2 separate regions of the Homo sapiens genome follow, and region 2 is linked to region 1. Evidence: promoter capture Hi-C in 16 types of primary human blood cells and fetal thymus (Javierre and others, 2016). All regions are on one chromosome and are shown on one strand. Each heading gives the region's core, a stretch centred on a gene start or on the middle of the fragment in contact. The rest is flanking DNA. Distances are from core to core; before and after follow the strand shown. Region 1 holds the start of LHFPL6 (LHFPL tetraspan subfamily member 6). Region 2 has its middle 12 kb from the start of SUPT20H.

Evidence for each region. The method cuts DNA at HindIII sites, captures the fragments that hold promoters and counts their contacts. A CHiCAGO score of 5 or more calls a contact.
Region 2: a fragment that was not itself captured here is called in contact with the fragment with the promoter of LHFPL6 in region 1 in 1 of 17 cell types (total CD8 T cells); the score reaches 5.2 in total CD8 T cells.

Annotation. Positions count from the first base shown.
Region 1 is chr13:39,601,722-39,605,628 of GRCh38, reverse strand. It overlaps LHFPL6 (LHFPL tetraspan subfamily member 6), which reads left to right and starts at 2,436. Exons shown (of 4, transcript NM_005780.3): 1 at 2,436-2,746. It overlaps LOC112268119 (protein SPT2 homolog), which reads right to left. Exons shown (of 4, transcript XM_035861111.2): 2 at 3,089-3,179; 3 at 1,987-2,985. RefSeq lists a silencer at 2,242-2,541. The HindIII fragment of the contact is 2,884 bases long and covers 1,177-3,907 here.
Region 2 is chr13:37,069,926-37,073,465 of GRCh38, reverse strand. No RefSeq gene overlaps it. Among named protein-coding and RNA genes, the nearest start is that of SUPT20H, 12 kb to the right of the region's middle. The HindIII fragment of the contact is 897 bases long and covers 1,580-2,476 here.

The sequences.
Region 1 (3,907 bases), core at 1,187-3,686:
GATATGTGGATTATAGCCTCAGCTTTGGGTAAGACACTGGAAGAATTTCGAGCCTCTGTTTTGTCAGCTGTAAAATTACATACTTGAACAAGATTAGATGATCTCTAAATTCCTTCTCAAAGATAAGAGGACCCATATAACCATGATGCTGGAAGTTGTGAGCTTAAAAAAAATTAAAATAACCTATTTCAATCTCTTTTTAACAATGAGATAACTTAGGGCTTGGGAAGATCACCATTTGTCTGAATTCACTTATTTAAGTTAGAAATTTGAGTCCCAGTATTATACTTTCACAAATAATTGATATTGCATCCTGAAAGATTTTTAAAAATTTGGCCTCTTCTGTCATTTTTTTTTTCATTTTAGGCAGAATCTCTGTGATAGCATTTACTCTGCTTAAGAGAGTGCAAATAATGAGATTTTTTTAAAAGTCATTTTTTAGCTGTAAATTTTTGGGCAAATTACTTCTTATCCTTGCGGTAAAATAATAATTATTCCTTCTTCATAATTTTTCTTTTCTTTTTTGAGGACTGGATAAGTAATCTATTAAGGGACCTTAATGTACTAACACACAGCAAGGAGTCAATCTGTAGTAACCATGATTATCATTAATATGTCTCCAGCCAGCACTTGCGCTTAAGCTTTCTCACACTTAAGAAAGTGTTTGAGAGCAATTTCCCCTGCAGGTTGTACGGAGGTGACTCCGATTCTCACTATTATTCTTTTGTCTTTTATGATCATATCTTCCACCATCATATTATATAGGTATGAAGGCTCTGTGTAATAACTAAGGGTGTGGTACCTAACTGGAAGTCAGACCAATCATTCTTATGCTGTCACTGAAACCAGTAACCGGTGATTTGTAAGAGAAGAGTTAAAACAACTTAAACTCAACAACAACACCAAAAACAAAAACACTTAAATTGGGGATTCTGAATATGGGATTCATGGATGGGCTTTAAGGGAATGGGAAACCACCTGATATTTCATTCAAATGATTGACATTTTGGCCCAGGTAATTTTGGGGACTGTCCTGTGCACTGTATTTAGCAGAATCTCGGGTCTTTACCAACTAGATGCCAGTAATACTCCCCATTCATGGGTTATGATAATCAAAATTATCTTCAGACCTTGCCAAATATCCCTTTCCTTCTTCAGAATCGCTGTGGTAAAGCTTTATATGTCCGCGCATTTTTTTTTCTGGAAGGCTTATCAGTTTCATCGTATTTTTTAAAAGACCTGTGACCTCAAAAGGCTTGGAATCAATCACTTAAGGTCTTTCAAAATAATAATAAAAGAACACATATCTCCAGCTGTCGTTGTGGGAAAAATGTACACCATCACGGCTAATTAAAATGGTGCAGTCTGAAAATCTGCTATGAAATATATACCTACCAATTTATTACTTTCAACTCCTCTAAAAAGACACCTCACAAAAACTATATCTGGGAAACTGTCTACTTCAAAAACTGCTGTTCCCAGATGGCATACTTCTTAAAATACTGTGTTCAGCAGAGACTCCCACAGTCATCTACTGAATCTAGCTCTAAACTTCTAAAGGGGTTAGTGCTAATGACAAGTGGAAAAAGTCCTCAAGTCCAGAGGGGAACTAAAAATCAGTTGTTTCTCAGAAAAGAAATCAAACGATGGAATAAATTGCAAAATTGATCAGGAGGCAGGATGGAGGAGAAGGGAGGGAGGAAGTGAAGGGAAAGGGAGGGAGGGAGGGAGAGAGAGACAGAGAAACAGCAAGAGAGAGAGAGAGAGACCTTTGAAAGAGTGTATCTCTTGGGAGAGGCTCGCTAGAGGTCCGCCCCTGCCTTCTCCCTGGCTCGTCTGGAAAGGCAGCTGCCCCCATGCCATACATGAGCCTTGGGCTGTCTGCTGTGCTTTAATTCCCACGTCCACAACCGCCTCATTCACCGCCTTCCAAAGTGACCACTTCTCAAAAGCCTCCTCAAATCTCAAAGGGGCCACTTTACCCACTCTTTAAGGCCCTCTTTCCCGTCTACGGCTTCTTTTAACGGCGGCAGGAAAACAGGAGCATAAACCCGAACAGTAAACCCAGAAAAGCCCCAACAGGCAAAGTGTGTCATCTTCCGTGGCTCCTCGGGGTCACCCAGGAAGACAAGCAACTTTCTCCCATACTTCTCGGTCTGTCTGCCTTCCCCACTCAGCTTTGAATGAGACGCAGGGAGAGGGGGCGCGAGGGGGCTCGGGGCTAGGGGAGGAGCCGCGAAAGCTGCCCCCGGGGGTGGGCCTGGACCCGCGCGGACAGCGGGGCACCCCCCCACTCCCTTCCCGGCGCTCCAGGAACGTCCCCGGTGCGTCCTGGGTCTGTCTGCGCGGAGTTCCCCGGGGCGCGAGGGGAGGGGACTGGAGAAAGAGGAGGGCCGGGCAGCGGAGGGGAGGAGGCGGTGCGTGCCTCGCCTGCCAAAGGGAGATCCGCTCCTCTGCGTGCGATCCCCGGCGCCCGCGCGCGCCCACAGCGCTCCGCCAGAGCTGCCGCCGCGGACTCGCCGGGAGTGGGGGTCTCCGCTGGTGCCAGCCCGCTTCTGGAGACCCTCCGCCTCCTGCCAACCCCTGCTCTTCCAGGTCGGGCCCCGGGGTTCTGCGGCTGTTAGGGACAGAGGCAAAGAAGGGCAGGACGGTCCGGTTTCCCGTGGATGTTCCCGCCCGAGAAAGACAGCAAGTTGTGTGTGCGCCCGGGACGCGGGAGGGAAGGTGGCCGCCGCCCGCCAGCCATGTAAGTAAATCACTCGGCTGCCCCGTGGGCGTGGGCTCCGCTGCTTTCTCCCGGGCTCCCTCTCTGCCCCGGAGCCGGAGTTGGGCTGCTCCCGGGCTCCGGACTTCCTGAGCTCGGCGGATCCGTCGGCTCTGCCTGCCAGCCGCGTCCGCTCTTGGCGTCTGCCTCCGGGGGGTGCTGCCTTCCCATCCTTATCCCCTCCCTTCGTCCAGAGCCGGCTGGAAAATGCCTCTTGCCCCCTTTTAGAATGGAGGGATCATTGTGTGTCTCCATGGGTGGAGTGGCTCGGTGAGGCAATGGCAGGGGGCTAAATATGGGCTTGTCTTGGCGAGGGCGCCTCACCGCAGTTGGAGATGGGGGCCCCCTGCCCGCAGGCCACCCCCTGCTGGTCTTCCCCAGCCTCGTGGCCCAGATAGATCAACTTCAGCCCTGACTGCAGTTGACAAGATTAGAAAAAAAAGTAGTAGCCGACCTCCCGTTTGAGTGACATCCAGAACTGAAAATGGGCGGTGGTTAGAGAAAAAAACGGGTAGGGGCGAGGTGAAGAAAGGGGGAAATTTGCTATGGACCCTGAAAGCTGGAGTTAGGGGTCCTGGGGGTGGAATTCTAGGGTGGATGGGCTCTGTGCTTCTGTATTCATTTCTTTATGGAAAGTGTGAGAAATGGTTAAGGAACTCTTTTTGAAAGGCTGGGGTGGAAGTAGATGCCCCTGGAACCATTTGGATGACTGGGGTTTGATGTAGCATACTGGGAAGTATGGATTGCTGTTCAAATTAGACAATCATTCAGTGGGAGAAATGATTGCAATAGAACTGTTGGAATCAATGAATCAAAACTGCAGACTCAAAATAAGTCATACACAGGCATTCTTTTACACTAGAAGATGTTAAGACTAAAGAAATTCTGAAATGCTGCTGAATGAGTACAAAGAGTGTCTGGTAATAGTTCTGTACTGTGGGTGCCTCCGCAGACCATAATGCTTGTTAAATTTATGGTACTCTGCAATTGTGAAAAATTATCCTAATTAGTTTGTTTGGCTCATGCAGAGAGTTAATGCACCCTTAAAGGGACATAGAAAAGTTGCAACAAACTATGAGCATGAACTTGCAAGCCAAAAAATGGAAATCATGGCATGGTTCATTTTATTTTAATTGTTTATTG
Region 2 (3,540 bases), core at 779-3,278, 2.5 Mb after region 1:
CATCGTTTCACTTGTTGACCCCTCTCTCACCTCCTTCAGATTTTTTTTGCTTACAGGTTAATTAGCCTTCACTAACTGTTTTTAAGTCGACATCATTCCTGCCTCTCTCCATCCAGCACTCCCTATATGCCTTTCCCTGCTTTCTTTTTCTTCTTCATGGCACTTATTATCATCTGATAAAGAGAAAGCCCCTGCCATCAGGCAATTGGCCTGATGCTCACAGCTTGGCCCCATTCTCCTGCTGTACATAAACAATTTCATAGACCATCAACAACAGACAAGGACACTCTCAGATTTTGATAAAGTGAGATAAAAACAAGGCCACTGTGCAACCCACAAATTACCAAACACCTCTTTTCTTTTGGCTAAAATTAATGACTGCTGCTTCTTTACCAAGTACAACTTTAGCCTCAATCTAGTCTGTCCTCTCTACACATAAGATTTATTAAGATACCAAATCAGAATTTCCCCTACTTCCTGACAACTTTAAATCCAGAGCAAAGCTCTACTCTTTGAGAACCTGCCCCAAGTTGCCAGCTAAAGCCCAAATCCTATAATAGATTACATTCTTTTTCTGAGCCCCCTATGAGTCCCTATGGTGACTGTTGTCCCTCTCTGCAAAAAATAACAAACCCTAGTTATTCAACCACAGGTGTGTGGCTGGCGGCCTTTTCCTGAAGGACACAGACACATAATGTACTATGTGTTCTCATTTATTCATTTCTCCCTCTAGGAAGTATCTCTCTGAGGGCCTACATGTTTATCCCTTTGGACACTGCTAATGTTCCCAGCAGTTAGAAGCATACCTAGTATATTAGAGGCTCTCAGGAAATAGTTATTAATGAATGAATATTGAGCACCAAGATTGGAGTAGGCATTAGAGATGTGTTAAAATAACTAAATGGGAGGCCATTAGACTGAAGTGGCTCTGACACCCTGGATTCCTACATAAGCAAACTGAAACCTAACGGAATTTTAAACTTTATCTCAGCAAATCACAAATGGCCAATTGGGCATTATTTATATTGTCTTGAATCTTTCACTGAAATAGTCCAAATAAGGCAATTGCTCAAACTTTAACCAGACAAATAATTTCTTTGCTTTCACATTCACCTTATAAAAGTTTTTCCTTCAACCTCTTCCAGGAGCCTCTATTTCTGTGTGAGCCCCTAGCCATTCCCTGCCTGTTTCATGGTCACAGTCTGCTCAAATAAACTCTTAGTTTTTAATGTGCCAAAGGTTATGTTTTAATAGATGCAAACGTGAATCAGAGCAAATCCTGGCGATGTTCTGCAGGCAGTGGCCCAGTTATACGAATGCCTGTTCAATAAGTTTGCCTGGATAAAGGAAGAAAGGGGCAAGAAATGAATCAAATTCTACAGTGGGGACCACTACGTTTCTCTGCTTTCAATGCCTGCTTTATTATTCTTTTCTTTTTCTCTCTTTCTTTATCAGGGTCACCCTCAGGAAAAAGTCAGACACACTCCCCTGAAACCACTGCTGGCTGGAGGAAACAGGTTTAGCATATGTCAATGAGAACCACACATGCTATGGAATTTCATGCCAAAGCTATCAAGCTTCCCTTTGACAGCCTCACTGAGAAAACAAGTCAATAGAGATTCATTAATTGGAATTTAGAAACCTTACTTATTTAAAAAAAAAAGGCTGAAAATTATTATACATTACAGAACAATGATTCTCACACTCCAGGGCACTTAAGAATCCCCTGAGGTGTTAAGAAAAAGAGACTTTTTAATTGAAATAAGTTTCTGAATTTATAATAAAATTAGCATTTTGAGATTAAAGTCTTAAGAAATCTAAATTTATAAACTCATAATTTTAATAAATTGAATATTCACTAAAACACCAGCAACTCCAGGTATTTTTTCAAGCCCCAAATCTTCCCTTGTCGAAACAAGGGAATTAGCAATGCACCTGACATTTATCAGGCATCTTTGTAAGTTCTGTTGCCTTTATTATATAAGGGCTCTCTTGCCTTTATAGCCTACCCACCTTCTTCTTTTCCTTGGATTCAGCTATTATCTTTCTGCTAATTATCAATAAATTAATAATTTTGATTAGGGAAATCTCTTTCAAGTTTGGTAATGTTATGGGATCTTTGAGGTGTCCTTCTCCTGGCTGGAAACCTGTGGCTGGTGGAGGCCTTGCCCAAGTTTTGCTCAGCCCACTGGGCTCGTTCTGCCCACTTGGCCTAGCAGGCTGTACTCAGCTCATGCTACTGGCCTGGATCCCACACCTCCAAGGGAGACAGTGAGTCAAGCATGGAGCAGCAAGAGTTGTGTGTGTGAGCACGGGGTCTGGCCACTGCGCAGTCAGACATGCAGCTGCTGCCATGGGGCGGGCAGCTCCAGATGCCAGCATAGGCGCCGGCTCTCAGTGAGGCTGCAGCTGGACAGGGCGCACCACAAGGAGCTTCCCTGGCTGGCACCAGGGAAAGCAGTGGTGCCTGGAAGCTTGGAGATGCCAGGAACCACAGGGCCTCAAAGAAGGAGTCACAGCCCTGGCTCAGGGAGCTCCCAGGTCTAGACTCCCCAAAGGGCCACAGCTCTCCTTCTCTCTGCCTGTAACGTGGGGAGCAAGGGGCATGTTTCAGCCCTGTTTGTATTACAGTTCTCTTAGCCTTGCCATTTAGTGGGTCCCAAGTTCTTGTCTTGTGACCAGGAAGAATGAGGTACGCATGCAAGTGAAGGGTGAGCAAGATGATGAAGAGCTTTATTGAGCGATAGAACAGCTCAGTCTCCCACAAGGGGCAGCTCCTTTCCTCAGCCAGGATGTCCCGTCAAGTGTTCAGCTCCTAACTGAGAGCTGGTAGCTCCTCTCTGCAGGCAAGTCGTCCCAACAAGTGTTCACTCTTGGCAGGGAGAGTGGCTCCTCTCTGCAGCTGTTCCTCCCATGGTCCAGCTACCAGCAGAGAGGGTAGCTCCTCTCTGCAGCTGGTCATCCCGTCATCTGTTCAGCTCTGGCTGAGTCCTGGGCTTTTATGGCCTCAGAAGTGCCCGCTGATTGGTCTATGAGAGGCCATGGCGGGTGGCCAGAAAAGCCACCACCTCCCACTCCTATCAACTGGATGGGCAGTCAGCCCCAAGCCTTCAGGCCTTCCCTGGCCTAACCAGGGACCTGCCCCCTTCTACCCTCTTAACAGCCTGTCTGCCTCCTGCAGCTGTCCATGGAGCCCAGAATGCTCGAGTCAAGGGGCACCTGTAGGCCAGCACCAAGCTGCTCTCAGCCACCCCTCGGCTTCCCCTGTACTCCTCAGTGCCCAAAGTCCGGAGGGGGTCTAGGCAGCAGGGGGCTGGCGTGTCAGCACTGCCCTGAGCTTGGCCCCAACCCAGCTCCAAGATCAAAGCAGTGCAGGGAACAGGGAGAGGCCAGGCAGGAGCAGGCTTCCCCGAGCCTGTGGGGACAGGGGGGCCTTCCTGACCTCAAGGGTACAGATCCCACAGACGGCCTGGGTCCTGCACCTGGGAAGGTGGGGCTCCTGCCTGCTCTGTGGAATGTGCAGGCAGCCCGGGCCATGCC